2 separate regions of the Homo sapiens genome follow, and region 1 is linked to region 2. The links are contacts of gene promoters, found by promoter capture Hi-C in blood cells and fetal thymus (Javierre and others, 2016). All regions are on one chromosome and are shown on one strand. Each heading gives the region's core, a stretch centred on a gene start or on the middle of the fragment in contact. The rest is flanking DNA. Distances are from core to core; before and after follow the strand shown. Region 1 has its middle 22 kb from the start of TRA2B. Region 2 holds the start of RFC4 (replication factor C subunit 4).

Region 1 (4,019 bases), core at 260-2,759, 850 kb after region 2:
CCCTAACGCTTAATAGAGTCATCCCCCGCTCCATTGCCTCTTCTTCTCCTTTTAATATCATACTTGACTGTTGATTTTTGAGAATTTATTTCACTCTGCTTCCTGCTTTAGCCCTTGACTTCCTCCAGACAAATTCCTGTTCTCATAGAGCTTATATTCTAGTGTGGAAAGACAGGCAGAAATAGAAGAATTGAAGTAAGGAAGGGAGCCAGACATGGGCAGGGTGGAAGCAGAGTTGCAATTTCAAATATAGAGGTCTGGAAAGTCCCCATGGAAAAGGTAACATCTAAGCAGAGACCTGAATGGCATGAGGGGGAAAGCAGTGGGTAACTGTGTTAGTTCTTTCTCACACTGCTGTGAAGAAATACCCAACACTGGGTAATTTATAAAGAAAAGAGGTTTAATTGACTCACAGTTTCACATGGCTAGGGAGGTCTCAGGAAACTTACAATCATGGCGGGAGACACCACTTCACAGGGTGGCAGCAGAGAAAATGAGGGCCCAGTGAAGGGGGAAGCCGCTTGTAAAACCACCAGATCTCATGAGAACGAACTCACTATTGATACGAACAGGAGACAGGGAAATACTGGGTAGAAGAGGGTGGTTCCTGGCAAAGGCCCCACCCTTAAGCCTGGATACCTGCTGCCCTAAGTAATAGGCATTCCTGTTTTTGCACCCCAAAAGTTGCCTTCTGGCCTGCCACCACCCCTATCCTGTATCCATATAAGCCCCAAACCCCAGGCTCCAGAAGCAGACTAGGAGACAAGGAGACAAACAGATGGCAGAATGGTGCAGCAGAGGAGAGAAGAGAAGGAACGTCAGGAGGAGTTTGGCTGAGGATGTTCGGAGAATCAGCCACTGGACAGCCAAACTCCAGGGCAAGATCATATTTCTACTCCATCCCCTGTCTAGCTCCCCAACCATCCCACTGAGAGCCACTTCCACCACTCAATAAAACCCCTGCATTCATCCTTCAAGTCCATGTGTGACCTGATTCTTCTGGGATGCTGGATGAGGGCTTGGGATACAGAAAGTTGTCACACTAGCCCCCTCCTTTTGCAAAAAGGCAGAGGGTTCACTGAGCTGGTTAACCCTTAAGCCATCTGTGGATGGCAAGGCTAAAAGAGTGCACTGTAACACATGCACACTTGGGCTTTGAAAGTTACAGACACCCACCCCTAGATGCTGCCATAGGGCTGGAGCCCAAAAGCACTTGCCCCAGTTCCTGCACCTACCGGTATGCATGCTCCCCATCTCTTAAAGAGTTTGAGCTTGCAGTGGCAGAACAGAGAGCCACACCCCTGTGGCACACCCTGTGGTGGGGGACCAGGACCAGGGAACTCTCTCTTTTCACTATCATGAGAACAGGCTGGGGGAACCGCCCCCAGCATTCATTTATCTCCACCTGGTCACTCGTATGACATGTAGGGATTGTGGGAACTACAATTCAAGATGAGATTTGGGTGGGGACACAGTCAAATTATATCAGTAACAGAGGGAGATCATTCTAGGTTGAAGAAGCAGCCAATACAAAGGCCAGAGCCTTTGTATTTGTGGGATTGTTTTGGAGGAACAGCAAGAAAGCCAGGGTAATGAAGCGGAGTGAGAGGAGGGTGGCAGGAAGAGAGTTCTGACACAACATTTCCAAGGCCCTGTTGCAGGGCATTAGCAGGACTTTGCACTTTACTGGGAGTGCCATGGGGCTGGGATCTTTTAGAGGGTTTTGAGCAGAGGCCTGACATGATCTGACAGTTTCAAATGGATCCTTGGGAGGCTGAAATGAGAATAGATTGAAGGAGAAAAACCTGATTTGATTTATATTGTGCAAAGATGGCTCTGACTGTTGAGGAACAAACTGTAAGGGAGCCAGGAATGCAAACTTCCCACACACTCCATCCTTGCAGACTCCCTGGAAGATTGGTCAGGCATTGGATATTCACTACAAACCCCCAGGCCCCTCACACTTGTACCTTTTGCTTATTAGGAAGTGAGTGGAGAGAAGACTTCAGAGTATAGCTTATGTTGAAATGAGACTTATACCAACCAGTTAGCCCCATGACTGGGAAAGGGAGATTACGTCAGTGTCCTTGTCCTGCTGAGATCAAGTTACAAATCAAATCATGCCACCCCTTTACCACATCAAGAACTAAAGCAATAGGATACTTTAAAAAATTTCTTCCAAAGAGCTCTTTGTTCAGCCCACACTTGCAGGCTCTAAAGTTACAAACAGGAAGACAGGAGAGTGAGCAAAGTCAGCATGCCCTAAAAATTAAAGACTTTTTACCTGTTGCTCCAAACACTGTAATTACTTTCTTGCTGGCCATGTTATCAGGAAAAGAGAGAGTCAGTGGAGTAACAGAACTTTCCCTGGAGCAGCGACACCAGCCGAAATGCTGTGTTTCTTCTCTGGTGAGAATTATAAACCCATTCCAATTACCACGCCTTTTATTGTGCCCCTCCTTGTTCCTGTTACCACTAGTCCACTTACTCACTGTGACACTGCAATTTTCAATTTTCTTTTTTTCTTTTTCTTTTCTTCTTCTTTTTTTTTTTTTTTTTTTTTTTGAGATGGAGTTTTGTTCTTGTTACCCAGGCTTGAGTGCAATGTCACAGTCACAGCTCACTGCAATCTCCACCCACTGGGTTCAAAGGATTCTCCTGCCTCAGCCTTCCAAGTAGCTGGGATTACAGGCACGTGCCACTATGCCTGGCTAATTTTTTTTTTTTTTTTTTTTTTTTGTATTTTTAGTAGAGACGAGGGGATTTCACCATGTTGGCCAGGCTGGTCTCGAACTCCTGACCTCAGGTGGTCCGCCCACCTTGGCCTCCCAAAATGCTGGGATTACAGGCATGAGCCACTGCACTCAGCCAACACTGCTGTTTTCTTTCTTTCTTTCTTTCTTTCTTTCTTTTTAATGGAGTTTCACTCTTGTTGCCCAAACTGGAGTGCAGTGGCGCAATCTCAACTCACCGCAACCTCTGCCTCCCGGGTTCAAGCAATTCTCCTGCCTCAGCCTCCCAAGTAGCTGGGATTACAGGCATGCACTATCACACCCAGCTAATTTTGTATTTTTAGTAGAAGTGGGGTTTCACCATGTTGTTCAGGCTGGTCTCGAACTCCCAACCTCAGGTGATCCACCCACCTCGGCCTCCCAAAGTGCTGGGATTACAGGCATGAACCACTGCACCTGGGCTGACACTGCAATTTTCTAAATGAAGACTGATTCACTCACATATTTATTTGTTCAGCAAATGTGCATTGAGTGCCTTTGGTATACAAGGCATTGAACTAGATGTCCTGGTGATGTGGCTCTTGTAAGGGGGCTAAGCTCATAAATAAATAAAACTGTAGTACAGGGCAATGGCAAAGGAAACTCAAGGGACCTAAGTCATGGAGGAGAAGCACAAAACCCAGAATTAGGGAAGGTTTTCTCAGAGGAGATAATGCTGCAGTTGGCCTGAAGACCCAACATGAGTCATTTATTCAGGGAGTGTAGGGAGAGAAACCATCGCAGGCAGGAAAAACTTCACACAGCCAAGCCCAAAGGCAGGGCAATGATCCCACAGGGTCATGATGGCTGCAGCAATGCTATGTGAGCAGCAGGAAATAAGACGGAAGGAGAGCAAAGGCCCAGAACACAAAGGGCATGCTAGGCATGGTGAGGAGCTTGGCTTATCCCAACAGCCACAGCAGTATTATGAGATCTTCTGGCAGCAGAGTAGTGGCTGGGTTGAAATAAGACAATGCTGGAAGCAGGGACAGTCCTAAGCTTATCCTGAAGAAATGACATAGGTGAGAAACACTAAAGGCTTGAACAGAGGCAGCGTCAGGAGTTGTATTGTGTCCTCCCTCCACCAACAAAATCCATGGTGAAGTCCTCATCCCCAGTACCTCAGAATGTGACCTCATTTGGAGATAGGGTTCTTTTTTTTTTTTTTTTTTTGAGACAGAGTCTTGCTCTGTTGCCCAGGCTGGAGTGCAGTGGTGCAATTTTGGCTCACTGCAACCTCTGCCTCCC
Region 2 (3,960 bases), core at 430-2,929:
TATCCATCAGCTTGTCTGTTTTTTTGTTTGTTTGTTTTTGAGACGGAGTCTCGCTCTGTCACCAGGCTGGAATGCAATGGCGTGATCTCAGCTCACTGCAACCTCCACCTACCGTGTTCAAGCGATTCTCCTGCCTCAGCCTCCCAAGTAGGTGGGATTACAGGCACCTGCCATCATACCTGGCTAATTTTTGTATTTTTGTAGAGATGGAGTTTAACCATGTTGGCCAGGCTGGTCTTGAACTCCCGACCTCAGGTGATCCGCCCACCTCGGCCTCCCAAAGTGCTGTGATTACAGGCATGAGCCACCGTGCCCAGCCCAACTTGTCTGTTAAATGAGATCATAACATCCCCCTCTCTGTGGTTGTGCTGTTCCTTCAGGTAGCAAATGGATACCATCTATTTTCATAGATCTTGTTTTATCAACTGTATTGTGGTATAATTTACATACAATAAAATATACAAGCATTAAGTATACAGTTTGATAAGTTATGGTAATGTAAACCGGTGACCAGATAGATAACCTGTGTGTTTTTTATACTGTCCAGAGATTGTATCAGACTCTGTGGAAATTACAAAGTAGCATAAAGCATCCTTACTTTGGTTAAACCCTTGATTGGGTTAGGCCTGGGATGTAAGTTCTCACAGCCCCCTACTTCCTCTGCATAACCACACATCACATTGTCTGTCACTCTCCTAGTCTGTAAAGCTACTTGAGGGCATCTCGAGCGTTTTCCCTGCTGTATCTGCAGGCATCTAACACAGTGCGTGGACATTCTGTAAGCATTTGTTGCAAGATAAATGAAAAAAACGTACAAAGTTAACAATGGATATCATGCTGAGTTTGTGCCAAACAAAACAGTCATTTGAAGAAGACCCGGAACAACCTTATGGGTTAGTAATTAGTAAAGACCAGTAGAGAAGGTGGCCTTTGAGAAGGGTCAGGTTTCAATAGGATTAAGGAGCATTTCAGAGCTAAACCAAGTACTTGGAAGAGATAAAAGCAGTGGGCTCAGGCACCAGCCTAGCCCACTGTGCATGAAGCTTGGTGGGGCTAAACATGATTATCAGTCCTTTAACTTTTATTGAACGCCTTCACTTCCAGATTTCTAAGTGGGGCTCAGGAATTATAATAGATGTCCACAGCTGCATGGTCTTCTCTCTCCACAACACGCAGACACTATTAGAAGTAAAAGCCACGTGTCCTCAAGAGGGCAAGGCAAAGCATCTTCAGATGTCTCTGCCCTTAAAGCACACGCGTTCTGCTCTGCGACGAAGCAGGACAAGGAGGACAGGGACCTGCACCTCCGGAGGCCCGCACCTACGAAGATAGCGGGCTCGGGACCTTCGGTGGACCGGCAGGGTTCCAGAGGCCCGCGCGCCGCCGCCCCGCCCTCATTGCTGAGCCTGCCAGGTAAGCAGCCCCAGCGCCGTGCCCGCGCGACCTCTACTCCTTCCGGGAGGGTCGCGCTCACGTCTGAAGTGGGAGCAATGCACCGGGACAGGGACACCTCCTAGGCCATGCCTGTTCCAGTCCAGTTCTGCCTGAAAGTCCGGCTGGCTCATCACCTGCCTAAATAAAACCGTATACGGGCAAACTCCCTCCGCAAGCAGCGCGCCCCAGCACCGGAAGTGACGCGTTACGTGCCCGCGTATTCCTACCGGCGTATTCCCGCCCTGCTTTTCGCCCGCCGTTCCGTGGCGGGAACTGAGGCGACTGTGGGGACATCAGTGATCGTAAGTCTCCTGGGCCCGTTATTCTCAGATTAGGTGACGGAGCTAAGACTTCGAGACCATCTCGTCCTTTTTGTATCGCGGAAACCTGAGGAACGAGCCGGCGGCGGTGACCTGCACGAGAAGCCAGGCTAACTGGTAACCTGCTGGAGGAACTGCAAGCCCGCTTCGCCTTCCCCACTCCTGCCCTTGATGCCCCTTGTGAGGTCTTCCACCTCCTTCGGGGCCCCAGCCTAGTGGCCCTTTCATGCCCTGGCCGCGCCCTTTGGTGAAATGGTGGTTCCGGACAGCATCTTGCAGGCCCCGGCTTTGGGCTGTATTAATGTTTAACAGCCCGAGGCAGGGATGGACTAATCCAGTAACGTTATAAAAACCTTGGCTGCTAACAGATATTAAAAATTTATTTTATTGAGCATATCCCCATATGCCAAGCAAGGAACTATGTATTTGCATACATTCTTTTATTTAACTCAGTTGTCCTGTGGAATAGGCCTTAGCTCCTTTAACAGAAAAGGAAACCGGGTATCATAGATGGTAATTCATTCACCAAATATTACGGAGCATCTACCATGTACCAGGCACTGTTCTAGGCACCAGGGCATGTAGCAGTGAAAAAAATAGAATTAACCGGGGACTTTTCAGGCGAGCTAATGATGCTTTTTATCCCTGAAAACAGCCTGGAAGAATGTTTACCTGCATGTTAGAAATAGTTACCTTCTGGGTGGGATTTTGTATTACTTTTTTAAATCTCTCATGCTTTTATGCATTGTTTTGATTTCTTCAAGTGAGTGTGTTATGAGAAAAACAGCTGTTTCTATTTTAACAACAGAGTCCCCCACCTTCCCTTCCCCACAGAAAGTCTCTGAAGGTAGGTAAGCATTGACTCTGCCATGAAAATAGGTCCCTGGCCAGGCGAGATGGCTCACACCTGTAATCCCAGCACTTTGGGAGGCCGGGGCAGGAGGATTACTTGAGCCCAGGAGTTCCAGACCAGCCTAGGCAACATGGTGAAACCCTGTCTCTACCAAAAATTTAAAAAATTAGCCGGGGGTGGTGGCACGCACCTGTAGTCCTAGCTACTGGGGAGGCTGAAGTGGGAAGATGACAGGAGCCTGGGATGTCAAGGCTGCAGTGAACCATGATTCCGCCACTGCACTCCATCCTAGGCAAAAGAGTGAGACCCTGTCTCAAAAACAACAACAACAAAAAAAGGTCTTTGAGTTCTGACCCAAGGAAAGGAGTGAAGGTTCTCATTTGTGGTGCAAGCAGAGCACCTTTAATTGCCGAAGAGTCCATTTCAGGGTCTGAGCTAGAGCTAGGCCCATGACTGTGAAAGAAACCATGGAGGCCCATGTGGTTTGGTCATTAGCAACATCATATTTATCAATGCATTTGGAACTCATTAAACATTTTTGTGACATATGATCTTTGTTCTATAACTCCTGCACTAGAAATAGATTCTAAGTTCGTTAGGGACTTTGACCACTTTTCTGTTCTTGTAGCCCTCAGTACAGTGCATTCAGAGTGTCCTAGGTCATGGGGTGATGTCCTTTATTATGTAACATCTTTGCACAAGGCTAAGTTTATTTTCGGGCTGTACTTTCTCATAATGGTTCCCCACCACCACCCCCGCTTTCCTATGGTGCTGATTCGCAATAAAAGTTTCAATAAAAGCTTTTTTTTTCTGTCTTGCACCTGACCAGGGTGAAGTACCATGCAAGCATTTCTTAAAGGTACATCCATCAGTACTAAACCCCCGCTGACCAAGGATCGAGGAGTAGCTGCCAGTGCGGGAAGTAGCGGAGAGAACAAGAAAGCCAAACCCGTTCCCTGGGTGGAAAAATAGTAAGAACACTTGTGTCTTTGTTAAAATAATTCATAAATTATCTCTCTAACCAGTACTGATCACTTTTTTTTTTTTTTAACTTATGGAGGAATGCTTTGTTCTGTTTAGAAGTTGTCTTTGAAAAAAAATCACCCACTTATATAAGTCATAGAACCCTGGAACTAAAGTTACCTGAGAATAATCTAGTTTAACTCCCTTATTTTGTAGATAAACTGAGATCTCTACAAGCAGAGGCTTCCATTTTAGGGGCTGGGATACAGAAGTGAAGAAAACAAAAGTTTCTGTAAACTGGCTATAAATACTAGGTCAGGAGTTCTACTTAAATCCAAATATGTAATCTGTTCCTCCTTCTTCTCATTACAATAGGTGGAAAGTATTATT

What was found. Contacts are between HindIII fragments. The CHiCAGO score rates a contact against its expected background, and 5 or more counts as called.
Region 1: a contact is called between a fragment that was not itself captured here and the fragment with the promoter of RFC4 in region 2, in 7 of 17 cell types (activated CD4 T cells, naive CD8 T cells, total CD4 T cells and 4 more). The highest score is 8.7, in activated CD4 T cells.

The regions. Positions count from the first base shown.
Region 1 is chr3:185,958,344-185,962,362 of GRCh38, reverse strand. It overlaps the pseudogene NMRAL2P. Among named protein-coding and RNA genes, the nearest start is that of TRA2B, 22 kb to the right of the region's middle. The HindIII fragment of the contact is 4,527 bases long and covers 1-3,772 here.
Region 2 is chr3:186,804,201-186,808,160 of GRCh38, reverse strand. It overlaps RFC4 (replication factor C subunit 4), which reads left to right and starts at 1,679. Exons shown (of 11, transcript NM_002916.5): 1 at 1,679-1,871; 2 at 3,437-3,578. The coding sequence starts at 3,448. RefSeq lists enhancers at 900-1,511, 1,512-2,123. The HindIII fragment of the contact is 2,364 bases long and covers 1,046-3,409 here.